Regions from separate parts of the Homo sapiens genome. Here all the other regions are linked to region 3. The links are contacts of gene promoters, found by promoter capture Hi-C in blood cells and fetal thymus (Javierre and others, 2016). All regions are on one chromosome and are shown on one strand. Each heading gives the region's core, a stretch centred on a gene start or on the middle of the fragment in contact. The rest is flanking DNA. Distances are from core to core; before and after follow the strand shown. Region 1 overlaps ZNF175 (zinc finger protein 175). Region 2 overlaps SIGLEC5 (sialic acid binding Ig like lectin 5). Region 3 holds the start of SIGLEC12 (sialic acid binding Ig like lectin 12).

Region 1 (4,732 bases), core at 2,116-4,615, 85 kb after region 3:
GCTGTGATTACAGGCATGCACCACCATGCCCGGCTAATTTTGTATTTCTAGTAGAGACGGGGTTTCTCCTTGTTGGTCAGGCTGGTCTCGAACTCCCGACCTCAGGTGTTCCGCCTGGCTTGGCCTCCCAAAGTGCTGAGATTACAGGCGTGAGCCACCGTGCCCGGCTATGGGCATCTTTTCCCACAGGAATTGACTTAAAGGACCCATCCATTCTGAACTCTTAGTCCTCATATTTTTATTCTAATGATTTATATATCAGTACCTCTAGTCCCTGTGCTTAAACTGTGTTCTGCTACCTTACTTAGCTCCACGGAGGACAGTTCCCATGAGATGACTCACTTCCTTAATTTTGGGAGATCAGAAATTGGAATCATCATCATCCAAATAAGGAATTCTCACCTGATAAATTTTGTGAGATTTTTCTGTTTCTGGGCTCAGAAACACAGTCCTCTAATTTAATTTATTACTTTGGAATTCTTACCAGTTTTTCTTGTTTTAATTAAGAAAAAAGTGACCCTTTTTCTTAATCCCAGTGGTATTACAACAAACTAGATCCCCATTTTCTCATATTTAGACAATTTTGTTCCCAGTGAGATATGTTGATTTCAGGTTTTTGAGTTTAGTCAAGATACTGACAGATTTTATGACCCCAAACATGGCTATTTTGTTTCTTTTTTCCTCAGTAGATATGATAAAAACAGGCAGTTCTATTTCCTACTGTGTAGGATTAACAAATTCTTTTCAGTGATATTGTCCTCATGGCCACATATTTCCAATTTAAAAATATACCTGAATAGTTTTCATCACTCATGCTCTGCTCCATTGTTTTTGTATGTTGTTTAATGTCTACTCCATAGAATGATTCACTTTGCATACACTCTGCTGATTACTTTGTACTTTCTTAATCTTCATTATATCAATGTTTAGCATGAGGAAACCATTGTATTTAAGATATAGGATTAGGATTTTTGTATTTAGGATACAGAAATTACTGATTTTCTGAAAATGGGCAGAAAAGAATATTTCACAGTATTTTAAAAGGATGCTTTAAATATTTGCTGAGATAAATTCAAAAGAACGGAGATTGTATTTGGATGGAGAGGACAATGGCATTAAATGTTAAAAGTATTAGCCTTTGTGCATCAATCATGTCTATTTCATGGAAGGCTACTCAAAAAGTAAGTGTATCAACATGGGAAGCATGGATAGCAAATGCTGGTGAAGTTCAGAAAAATGATGTCAGCCTAGAGGTGGAGTGACATTGGGAATTAATTTTAAGGGCATAGTACCTATAACTGGTTCAAGAAGCCATTTTGAATTGAAACAAAGAAGCAGATGAAGCAAGCTTAATGGGAATAGAGGACATGAGAGTGTGCTTGGATTTGAGAATAAATTGGACTTCTTTTTTGCAATCGACATTGTTAGGCTGTGTTGGAGAGTTGTGGAAAAGCTTTTCAGTACAGTTCTGATAGTTTACATTGAACATTTTGGGCAGTAATTTAAGTGTTACCAGGTTCAGCAAGATTTTTATGACCTGAATAAAGTGAGAAGTTAAAAATGTTTCAGATCGCTGCCTGGGGACACAGTGGAAGATTGCCAGAATAAATGACCACCTGTATATGGGTAAAATTGCTATTTAAGAGTGAAAAATGAAATAGAAAACAACCTATTTTAATAAGTGGGAAAAGGATGTGAATAGACATGTCTTCAAAGATGATATACAAGTGGCCAATAATAGGAAAAAATGCTCAACTTCACTAATTATGTGGGAAATGCAAATCAAAACCACTGGGTGATATCCCTTTACATCCATTAGAATGGCTACAATTAAAAAAACAGAATAACAAGTGTTGGCAAGGATATAGAGAAACTGGAATCCTTGTGTATTACTAGTGGGAATGTAAAATGGTGTAGTCCTATGGAAAACAGGATGATGATTTCTCAAAAATTAAACATAAAATTACCATATGATCCAGCAACTCCACTTCTGGGTAGATACCCACAAGAATTGAAAGCAAGGACCCAAACAGCTGTTTGTACACTCTTGTTCATAGCAGCACTATTCACAATATCCAAAAAGTGGAATTGTCCATTGACCAATGAATTGGTAAACAAAATGTGGTCTATACATACAATGAAATATTATTCAGCCTTAAAAAGGAAGAGGAATTATGAAACATGTTGCAGTGCGGATGAATCTTATCATGATGCTAAGTGAATAAGCCAGACACAAAAAATCCAAATGTATCATTCTACCTGTATGAGGTACTTTAAGTAGTCAATTCATAGAGACAGAATAAGATTGTGGCTGCCAGAGAATGAGGGATGGGGGAAAAGGGAAATTGTTTAATGGATACAGCATTTCAGTTTTGCAAGATGTAAAAGTTTTGGAGATCCATTGCACAACAGGGTGAATACAGGTAGCACTACTGAACTGTACAATACAAAATGGGCAAGATGGTAAATGTAATATTATGCACTTTTGCTACAATAAGAAAAAGTTAACAATAAAGATTAAAAGTGTCCTTTTTTTAAAAAAAGAATGAAAGATGATTGAGTTTTTTTGATAGGACAAGAGTCTGGGATACAGTTTAAGTGACTGAAAGCGAAAAGAAACTACATGTGATGTTCATACTCAGTATTAAAATCTGGTAGAAAAAGTAATAGTAAAATTTAGTAACTATTATTTTTATTGAGAACCTGCTGTGTTTTGTGCAGTATACTAGTAAAGTGCACAGGATGATCAGGGACTCTTATTCTTGGCAAAAAAACAAAACAAAACAAAAAACTAAACTAAAAAAGGCATATTTGATAGCATAAAGCCAAAAGTTCTAACAAAGAACAATTAATTTCAATGGAACAAGGGTGAAACAAATTCTGGGGAACAGCTTGCTTGTCCAGTCTTTTAGAATATATTTCTGGGGATATGGGTATATTCCTAAGTTCAAGAAAAAAAAATTGTAGCTTCATGGAGAGTTGAGGCATAGGAGAGTTGAGGCATAGTCATTCTTTCACTGGTTGGCCATGTCAAGATAGGTGAAGCTTTAATAGTTTTCAGAAGGATATACAGGGCTGATGGACTTGGCATTGTTTCTAACAAGTAAGATAAAGCAGGCAGATTGGTGAGGATTCATCTCTGAAAGTTAATGAAGACCTACACACTGAGCCCCCTCCTTCAAGCCTTGGCTGCCCACACATGTTGCCCTGCAACACTTGTCTGTTTTATCCTACTCATCCTACTAGATCTGGGTGTCTAGACCACTTGCATAAGTGTCCTCAGGTTGTTGAAATCTAATCCCCACAGATTAGCAAAGTGATCTTGGCCAATTACATAACCATTATGTGCTTCCTTTTCTTTGTAAAACAGGAACACCCATCATCGCTACCTCCTGAGGTTATTATGCAGATTAAATGAGTATGTGTGCACCATGTAGGCCACTGCCTGGCACATGCTAAGTGCTATGTAGATAAATGCTCATCATGTAATAAGGGCTCTGTGTTTCTGCTCATTGTCAGCATCATTAGCAGCATTATTACATGACTCAGCAATTTCCTTGTGTTCTGTGTCAATCAGCTTCATGCAGTTTCTCCTCTTTCTTGTTCATTGTGTCTATTTCATCTTCTCTTTCTCCTTTTAGAAAGGGAGTTTGGGCTTGAAATCCCACAAAAGGAGATTTCTAAGAAAGCTTCATTTCAAAAGGATATGGTAGGTGAGTTCACAAGAGATGGTTCATGGTGTTCCATTTTAGAAGAACTGAGGCTGGATGCTGACCGCACAAAGAAAGATGAGCAAAATCAAATTCAACCCATGAGTCACAGTGCTTTCTTCAACAAGAAAACATTGAACACAGAAAGCAATTGTGAATATAAGGACCCTGGGAAAATGATTCGCACGAGGCCCCACCTTGCTTCTTCACAGAAACAACCTCAGAAATGTTGCTTATTTACAGAAAGTTTGAAGCTGAACCTAGAAGTGAACGGTCAGAATGAAAGCAATGACACAGAACAGCTTGATGACGTTGTTGGGTCTGGTCAGCTATTCAGCCATAGCTCTTCTGATGCCTGCAGCAAGAATATTCATACAGGAGAGACATTTTGCAAAGGTAACCAGTGTAGAAAAGTCTGTGGCCATAAACAGTCACTCAAGCAACATCAAATTCATACTCAGAAGAAACCAGATGGATGTTCTGAATGTGGGGGGAGCTTCACCCAGAAGTCACACCTCTTTGCCCAACAGAGAATTCATAGTGTAGGAAACCTCCATGAATGTGGCAAATGTGGAAAAGCCTTCATGCCACAACTAAAACTCAGTGTATATCTGACAGATCATACAGGTGATATACCCTGTATATGCAAGGAATGTGGGAAGGTCTTTATTCAGAGATCAGAATTGCTTACGCACCAGAAAACACACACTAGAAAGAAGCCCTATAAATGCCATGACTGTGGAAAAGCCTTTTTCCAGATGTTATCTCTCTTCAGACATCAGAGAACTCACAGTAGAGAAAAACTCTATGAATGCAGTGAATGTGGCAAAGGCTTCTCCCAAAACTCAACCCTCATTATACATCAGAAAATTCATACTGGTGAGAGACAGTATGCATGCAGTGAATGTGGGAAAGCCTTTACCCAGAAGTCAACACTCAGCTTGCACCAGAGAATCCACTCAGGGCAGAAGTCCTATGTGTGTATCGAATGCGGGCAGGCCTTCATCCAGAAGGCACACCTG
Region 2 (3,318 bases), core at 5-2,504, 110 kb after region 3:
GGTCACAGGCTGGGCACTCAGGCAGCAGGTGGTGTGCCAGGATAAAGGAGTATTCTGTGAAAGTCACACTGTGAACATGATGGCCAGATCTCTGGGGTTCCCATTCAAGGCCGGGCTAGATTTTATGACCACTCCCCAAAGAGAGACCTCAACACCAAATAAGAGAAAAATACAACAAATGGTTCCCACAGGGAAGTTGGGCTGATGTGACATTTATCAATTCATCCTTTTATAATCCACTCCTCCTAAGGACAGGCCATAGGCTGCCTAGGTCAGGGTCTATGTCTGATTTCTCACACTGTACGTGCCCAGGAACCGGCACAGGGCAGACAGGGCTGGGTTCAAATCCCGGCCCCACCTGTCCATATACATTTCCTGTGAACTCAACTATTCGCTCATTCTTTCAAAATTTTGTAATACTATGATTGATCAGACCATATTGAGGACTTACTAATCACATTGAATCATCACCAAAAAAAAACCCACAACAGTATAAAAGATATTCTAATTATCCCCACCTTACACACAGGGAAACTGAGGTGGAGAGAGGTTAAGTAGCTTGCCCAGGGTTATTCATCTAATACATGGCGAGGCCAGGATTCGAACTCAGCCCTGTCTCCCCTGTTTCAGGTTCTGGGCACGTACAGTGTGAGAAATCAGACATAGACCCTGACCTAGGCAGGAGGAGCGGATTATTGATGAAGCAAATGTATACCTTCGGCATAGGTTACAAGGTGTCTTATGTGCAAACCAGAAAAGAGATGGCAATTCTGATCCTGGACCCAGTTTCCATGAAAGAGAAACAAAATGGAGCAGATCCTGTCCCCAGCAAAGATGGTAACCAGATACAAGTAAGCAATTTCTTTCCTCTCCCACCTTCACCCATATCCCTACCCATCACGCTATGGAAAATATGTTGAAAGCAACGTGAGTCTTCAAACAGTAGCTCAGAAGTTTTCTTTTTGAGACAGAGTTTCACTCTGTCATCCAGGCTGGAGGGCAGTGGTGTGATTTCGTCTCACTGCAACCTCCCGTCCCTGGCTCAAGCAATCCTCCCACCTCAGCTTCCTGAGTAGCTGAGACCACAGGCACAAGCCACCATGCCCAGCTAATTTTTGTAAAGACAGGGTTTCGCCACGTTACCCAGGTTGGTCTCAAACTCCTGGGCTAAGCGACTGGCCCAGCTTAGCCTTCCAGAGTGGTGGGATTACAGGTGTGAGCCACCACACCTGGCCATACAGTTTTTTTAAAAGGACTCCGCAGTTAGGGAAAAATGGCTTCATTGTGTCAGAAAAAAATAGACTTTCTGGAGAGAGCTGCTTATATTAGGCACAAGAAAGATGAAATAAAATGAAAAAGTGGCTATGCACACCAGCATTATGCAGGCAAAGGAAGAAATAAAGACATATGTCTATCAATAGGTGTGCGGTATATGAAATAAAAAGGGTGAAATTGACAACTGAAAGAAAAGGCACAGCTCAGATTAGTAAATAGGACAATGCAGTATGTTCACCCTTTCACTCAATAGCTCTTTGCTGAGTGCTTTCTTTGGGCTAGATGCCGTTCGTATAAATGAGGACATAAAGCAGACTGAAACCACCCAAATACCTCCCCGTCATGCAGTTCCTTGTTAGACAGAAGGAAAAGTAATACTGGGTAACAGTTATAAGTGAGCTCCCTGTGAGCTTGCCACTTTACTAAGCACTCCTTGTAACAATCCGAGACAGATACTAGCATATTAATAACCCAATTTCTATAGGAGAAAACAAAAAAACAGAGAGGTTCATTAGCTTATCCAAGGTCACACAGCTTGCAAGTGGGTGAATCTAGAACCTGAATGCAGGACGTCAAACTCCAGGGACCATGCTGTGCCTCGCTTTACCATTCTGCCTATGGCATGAAAGTGTGCAGAATGGTTAAAGGTAAAATAAAGGAGAAAACAAAGCTCTCTCTACCATAGTTCTTGTCAAAAGAGTGAATTCATACACCGGCTCTGTTCTCCAAGACCTACCAATGATGGAACTAAAGATGGAGCTCCTGGGTGAACAAAACTTTACAAATCAATTTATGATCAATCAATCACACTGATATCCCTAGGGGAAAGTTAAGGCTCATTTGAAGAAAAGGGGTGGGAGAACTGGGCGGGGGGACAGCTGGCTTGTTGAGAGGATGGGTTAGCCCAAACATACTTGAATTCTGCTCCTTTCTCTCCTCTACCCTTCCAGTGGGACAAACATTGTCTGCCCCTCACTGCAGAATTCAGAGTATGGACAGGATTATGATGTGCCAGTGTCCAACAGGCATGTGTTGGGTAAGCACCAGAGGCCCACTGGGGTGAGGAGAAGGAGAACGGAGGTGGAAGCTCACTGGTCTTTGACATTCTCCTTGCCATTTTCTCCACTCCAAACTCCCAGGGCTGGTGGATCACAATGCAACGAGAGTCCTTGACCAATGTTGCTTCTCCACGAGGGTCTGAAGATGGAGGGATGACTTAAGCTGCCTTACTGGGGTGATAGGAAGTGGGACTGGTTGGGTGTGGTTTGGGTTCTTGAGGGGATCCACCCTGGGGCTTGTCCCAGTCATTTCTCTTTTTTTGAGACGATGCTTCACTGTTGTTGCCCAGGCTGGAGTGCAATGGCATGATCTCGGCTCACTGCAACCTCCACCTCCCAGGTTCAAGAGATTCCCCTGCCTCAGCCTCCCGAGTAGCTGGGATTACAGGCATGTGCCACCACACCTGGCTAATTTTGTATTTTTAGTAGAGACGGAGTTTCTCCATGTTGGTTGGGCTGGCCTCAAACTCCCGACCTCAGGTGATCTGCCCACCTCGGCCTCCCAAAGTGCTGGGATTATAGGCGTGAGCCACCGTGCCCGGCGTCCCTGTCATTTCTTTGGCTCAGTAAGCCTGACACAGGCCAGCATCTGCCCTTCCCTCATTCAAGAAACACTGCCAGAGTAGCCAATAACCCCAGGGGAATGTGAGCTCACAGCTCAGAAGGCTGGGCACCTTTGAAGAAAAGCAAACCAACAGAACCTGATAGACCACTAGAAGCACAAGTACTAGGACGCTTTGGTCAAGAAGCTAAACTGAGCATATTACATGCACTAAAAAGATGTGGCAATATTAGCAGCATGAAAACAAGCATAAGAAACTTTGTCAATAACAAAGTGTGCATGCAAAATGAATGTGAAACATAATAAGGAATTATGTAATTGTGTACTTGATGCAAAAAGGGCCATGTGGAAATATCTGAAAAATATCATAGGAAGAGCCCAATGGATGGGATGGAGAATAGAATGACTATAATTGAGGGCAAA
Region 3 (4,731 bases), core at 1,827-4,326:
GAGATCTTCCAGGTGCACAAACCAAGGCTCAGGACAGCCTGGACAGACCCTGGTCGATTCTGGGGACAGACTCTGCTGTGCATTATAAATTTTTGCCCATGTGACTATAGTATGTATCCAAAAGAATATACCTCAGAACTATTGGTGAAAATAAAAGGATGAGGCAATATTCAGGAGCTGGAAGATAAGAGTCCTCAAATCCTTGAGCTGCTGTGTGAATGTCCCTCTACCCTTGCTGTGGGGCCAAAATAGGTGTGTGTGTGGAGGAGTTCAAGGGGAGTGAAGGGGTGATGAGAAGGTGCTCAGGTGGCCAAAAGGCTGAGGCTGAGGGAGGGGGGGGCCGGGGCTCACCCACAAAAGGGTCTCAGGTCACCAGGGTGAGTCCTGGCTCTCCCCTGAGTTGAAGGCTCTGCTCCTCCAGCCCCAGGGAGAGGACTCCATCTTACCTGTGCCATCTCCTTGGAAGACAGTCATGGTCAAGTTCTGAGGAGGATCTGGAACAGAAAGACACGGAGTTCCCATCACTTTGAGGACTGGGGACACTGACCCTGTCTCCCCAGGAGCCCCATAAATGGGGAAGGTGGAGCCAGCATCCTCCTGACCCCCAACTCCCAGCCAAGATTCCAGGACCCAGATCCTTGAGTCTGGGTCCCACATCCAACTGGCCTCAAGGAATCCCGATCAAAGACCCAGACGTCCTGGCCCAGAACTCACAGGATATGTTGAGTCGGACAGCCCTGGTCATGGTCACGCCGGCCCCAGGCAAGGTCACCTGACAGGTGAGGCTGGTGCCATGGTCCTGGGGCTGTGGGATGAGGCTGAGCATCGAGGAGCGAGTGATAGTGGGGTCCAGGGAGGACACGGAGGCCCCCATCCAGGTGATCGTGGGGGGCGTCCCCTGTTCACAGGCCCAGGGCACAGAGCAGGTCAGGTTCCTGGGGTGGCCAGACTCCAGGGTCCCCGGGATGGAGAAGGTGGGCATGTGAGTCAGGGCTGGTGATGAAAGGGAGACAGGCAAAATGAGGGTGTTGGGGTCTGAAGTGTGGTGCTGAGGAGGCTCAGGCTCTGGTCTTACTCCTCCCCTGAGCCAGATATGCTTCACCTCCAACTCCCTCCCAGGATGGGGGTCCCACCTCAGCCCTACCCTGCGGCCCTCGGGCCTTCCCCTCTGGCTGGTCCTAGAGCCAGAGATTTACCTGTCACATGCACAGAGAGCTTGTCATATATGTAGTTCCATTTCCTGCTTCCTCTCTCCACCTGGAAGTAGTACTTCCCTGAATCCCCCTTCCTGGCATCTCTGATGCTCAGGGAGCAGTTGTTGGTCTGTGGGTCCCCAAGGAGGAGGAATCGACCGTGGGTATCCTCTTGCACTTTTCCACTTGGGGTGTTTGTGGCCACTGGAATATCCCATGGTATATCGGCCCCTTCCTTGAACCAGGATCCATAAACAGGGCTAGAGGCAGTCCAGTTGTAATGGGGGTAAAGGACACTGCAGGGCACAGAGACACACAGACCCTCCTGCACAGTCACCGACTCTGGCACCTCCAGCCTGTATCTTGACAGTAGGTCCTGGGACGCTGTGGAGAAACGAGGGTCAGCCCAGCCCCCACTGTCCCTCTCTTCATTTGCCCATAGCAGGGGCAGCAGCATCTCTGAGGCAGAGGCTTCCTGGGCTCCCTGTGTGAGCAGAGAAGGGGGAGGGAGAGGAGGGGCAGGGCTGTGGGACCCACAGGGGGCTGGAGAGGAGCTGGAGACCTCAGCCCTGCATGGAAGAGAAACTGCAAACCCACATGCTATAGGAACTCATTCCCTCTGCACAGAGTGAAGGAAACCCTAAAGCTCAGAGACCCTAGAGACCCACCCAGGGAGGAGAAGAGACCGTGTCCCGCCTCCTACCTCCGGGCTTCCCTGAAGCACCAGGGCCTGCACCAGACACGTAGGTCCTGCCCTCCCGGCCTCTGGACCATCGTGGAGGTCCCTCCTGTCTTTTGAGCATCTAAATGTGGATCTCCGAGGACCTCGGGGCATGAGAGATGGAGGGGCCGTGTGCTGAGTCTCCCTGTCCAGGCTCAGGTGCCTCTGCTGCCCTTGGTTTGCGCCAGGAAGTGCTTCCTCCCTGGCCTGGCCTGAGAGAGTCACGGGGTTGTGTAGACCTAAGGCTCTCAACTGGGGAGGACTTAACCCCCCAGGACGTTTGACAATGTGTGGAGATAATTGTCTCGCTGCATGGGTGGGGTGGGTGCTTCTGGCATCTGGTGGGGAGAGGCCTGGGATGGTGCTAAACCCCGGCCATGCCTAGGACAGGCCCCAAAACAAGGAGTCATAAGGCCCCACATGCCACAGTGCCAGCGTCAGAGGCAGGATGAGGATGTCAGGCCTGTGGGTCAGGGCTGGTGAGGGGAGGGGCTTGCAGGATCAGGAGGGGCATCCAAGGTGCGGTCCTGGGGAAGCTCAGGCTCTGGTCCAGCTCCTCCCCTGAGTCCATCACCCCCGGCCCCCTCCCAGGACATGTGTCCCGTCTCAGCCGTGCCCTAAAGCCCTCATCACATTTGCCTTTGGCCTCTCTTGGAGCCCGTGCCTTACCTGTCACATTCACAGAGAGCTGGTCATATTTATAATTCCATTTCATATTTCCTCTCTCTACACAAAAGACGTATGTCCCTGCATCACTCTCTCTGGTGTCTCTGATGCTCAGGGTACAATCCTTGTTCTGTGGGTCCCCAAGGAGGTGGAATCGGTCCCGAGTCTCCTCCTGCACTGCTCGAGCTGGGTTGTTTGTGGCCACTGGAATGTTCCGGCTTACATGGTCCCCTGCCCGGAACCAGTAGCCATGAACTGGATCGGAGGCAGTCCAGCCATTTTGGGGGTAGGAGAAGGAGCAAAGCACAGAGACACACAGGCCCTCCTGCACCGTCACGGACTTCTGCATTGTCAGCAGGTAATCCTTCTGTTCCTTAGCCCCCACTCTCCCACAGAGCAGGGGTGGCAGCAGTAGCAGCAGCAGTAGCATGTGTCGGGTTGGAGGTGCCAGGGTTGCTGAGGTAAGTCTGTTCCTCAGGGTTCTTCTCTCAGGAACTGAGAACTCAAGATTTCGAGGAAGCCGCACAGGAAGTTGGGGGTGGGTTCTGAACGGTGACCTCACAGGAGGAACTTCACACACAGACACTGTCAGGGCCGGGTCACCCCTGGAAGATCCACCGTCCACTACCCCGTCCACTCCTGGGGACCCTGAGGCCAGAGAGGATGAAAGACTCACCCAGATTCCAACCCCATGCAGGGCCCACCCCGCCCACTGCCTCCCTCTCAGTGCCCTTCCCCTTGGGTGATATTTTCCATAAGGTGAAAATGAGTCCCATGTGGCCAGACCTATGAAGTACAGGCTGTGGATGTCTCTCTGTAGGTCAGAGGTGACACTAGGATATAAGAGATGGGGGTGCAGGTGGGATGAGCAGGCAACCTCTCCTTCCTCCCTCAGCGGCCGTGAGGTGGAGTTCAACACAGCAGAGCTAGACACTGTCCCCAAAGAGTCACTGTGTAGTGGGGAGACACTGAGGCTCCTGATATCTGAGCTCTCCATGGCAGGAGCTTCAGTGGGGGTACCAGGCAGGGTGTGGTCGCTCTCTCCTATGTTGGGGAATCAGTCTCGGGAGGACTGAGCAGAGAGACACGGGGTCGTGGAGGTGAGGATTCCGTGTGTTGATACACACCAAAGACACAGAGAAGAGCCCAGTTCACAGGAGGCCTGAGAAGCTAAGGCTGTGACTGTTGTACAGTGAGGTCTGGAAGGGAGGAATGTTGGATGGGAAGGGACAGATTTCTAAAGGGGCAGGCGTTTCTCTCTCGGCCATGGCTCTCTGGGTTCAGGATGGGATCCTTCACCACTGCTCTCTCACAAGTCCTCCTTACTCCAGAGCATGAGGGGTCTGCTGGCCCTTTGTTCCTGCAGGCTCTGCTCCCAGGGTTTCAGGTGAACAGGAGACGTGGAGCGAGGACACCAGCCCTGGCGTGTCCACGCTCAATGATGGACAGGATTTCATGGGAGAAGAAATGCACCTGAATTCAGCAGAAGAGTTTTTGAAACTGTATGCTATGTACTGGGAGGAAGGTGGGGAAAATCCTGCAAGATTCGCCCTCCTTAGACCCATGTCAGCTTTTCTTGAAACAATGATTTTTGGGGAAATGTAATACAAGTAAATAAAAGTGCCACCTAAAAAAATGACTCAGTGATTTTCACCAAATTATCACTGTTCAAGAAATAGAACATCACAAGATAATTGCCAAATTTCTCCCATGAGATGAAGAAAGAAATTGCATTCATTTATTCAGCCCTGTGTTTCCCCTTCCTATAGGCCACATGCAGTTCCTCCTGAAGATGCCCCAGCCTCACTTTAATGATAATGGTCTCCTTGCTTTTCTATGTAGTTTTATCATCTGAGTGCACTGCCTTCAATACTATGGCTTTGCATAGGTTTTTCTAAAGACTATTTTTACATAAAAACCACAATCTGTTTTATTTTACTCAGCTCCATGGATCTTCCCATCCCCATGTTGTCCCCAATTGCCCATAACCTGGAGTAGAGTCAGTTGGCTGTGATAATTGAAAAGGAAATGTGCAGGATTGGGGCATGCATAGCTGCTCCTCTCCCTGACACCACTAATTCCTGCATTTGCAGCTTGTATCTCATCCTGCAGACCAATCTGCTCCTGGGCCCCCATCCTTGCCGTGTCACT

What was found. The method cuts DNA at HindIII sites, captures the fragments that hold promoters and counts their contacts. A CHiCAGO score of 5 or more calls a contact.
Region 1: a contact is called between a fragment that was not itself captured here and the fragment with the promoter of SIGLEC12 in region 3, in 1 of 17 cell types (erythroblasts). The highest score is 6.3, in erythroblasts.
Region 2: a fragment that was not itself captured here is called in contact with the fragment with the promoter of SIGLEC12 in region 3 in 1 of 17 cell types (erythroblasts); the score reaches 6.1 in erythroblasts.

Annotation. Positions count from the first base shown.
Region 1 is chr19:51,582,986-51,587,717 of GRCh38, forward strand. It overlaps ZNF175 (zinc finger protein 175), which reads left to right. Exons shown (of 5, transcript NM_007147.4): 5 at 3,642-4,732. Among named protein-coding and RNA genes, the nearest start is that of LINC01530, 9.0 kb to the right of the region's middle. RefSeq lists a silencer at 4,707-4,732. The HindIII fragment of the contact is 644 bases long and covers 3,044-3,687 here.
Region 2 is chr19:51,613,199-51,616,516 of GRCh38, forward strand. All of the region lies in intron 8 of SIGLEC5 (sialic acid binding Ig like lectin 5), which reads right to left. It overlaps LOC124904753 (a long non-coding RNA gene), which reads left to right. Exons shown (of 3, transcript XR_007067313.1): 2 at 631-851; 3 at 2,226-2,518. Among named protein-coding and RNA genes, the nearest start is that of SIGLEC5, 16 kb to the right of the region's middle. RefSeq lists a silencer at 2,469-2,618. The HindIII fragment of the contact is 7,305 bases long and covers 1-3,318 here.
Region 3 is chr19:51,498,724-51,503,454 of GRCh38, forward strand. SIGLEC12 (sialic acid binding Ig like lectin 12) reads right to left here and starts at 3,077. Exons shown (of 8, transcript NM_053003.4): 1 at 2,584-3,077; 2 at 1,197-1,577; 3 at 715-993; 4 at 447-494. The coding sequence starts at 3,010. RefSeq lists an enhancer at 840-1,339. The HindIII fragment of the contact is 28,149 bases long and covers 1-4,731 here.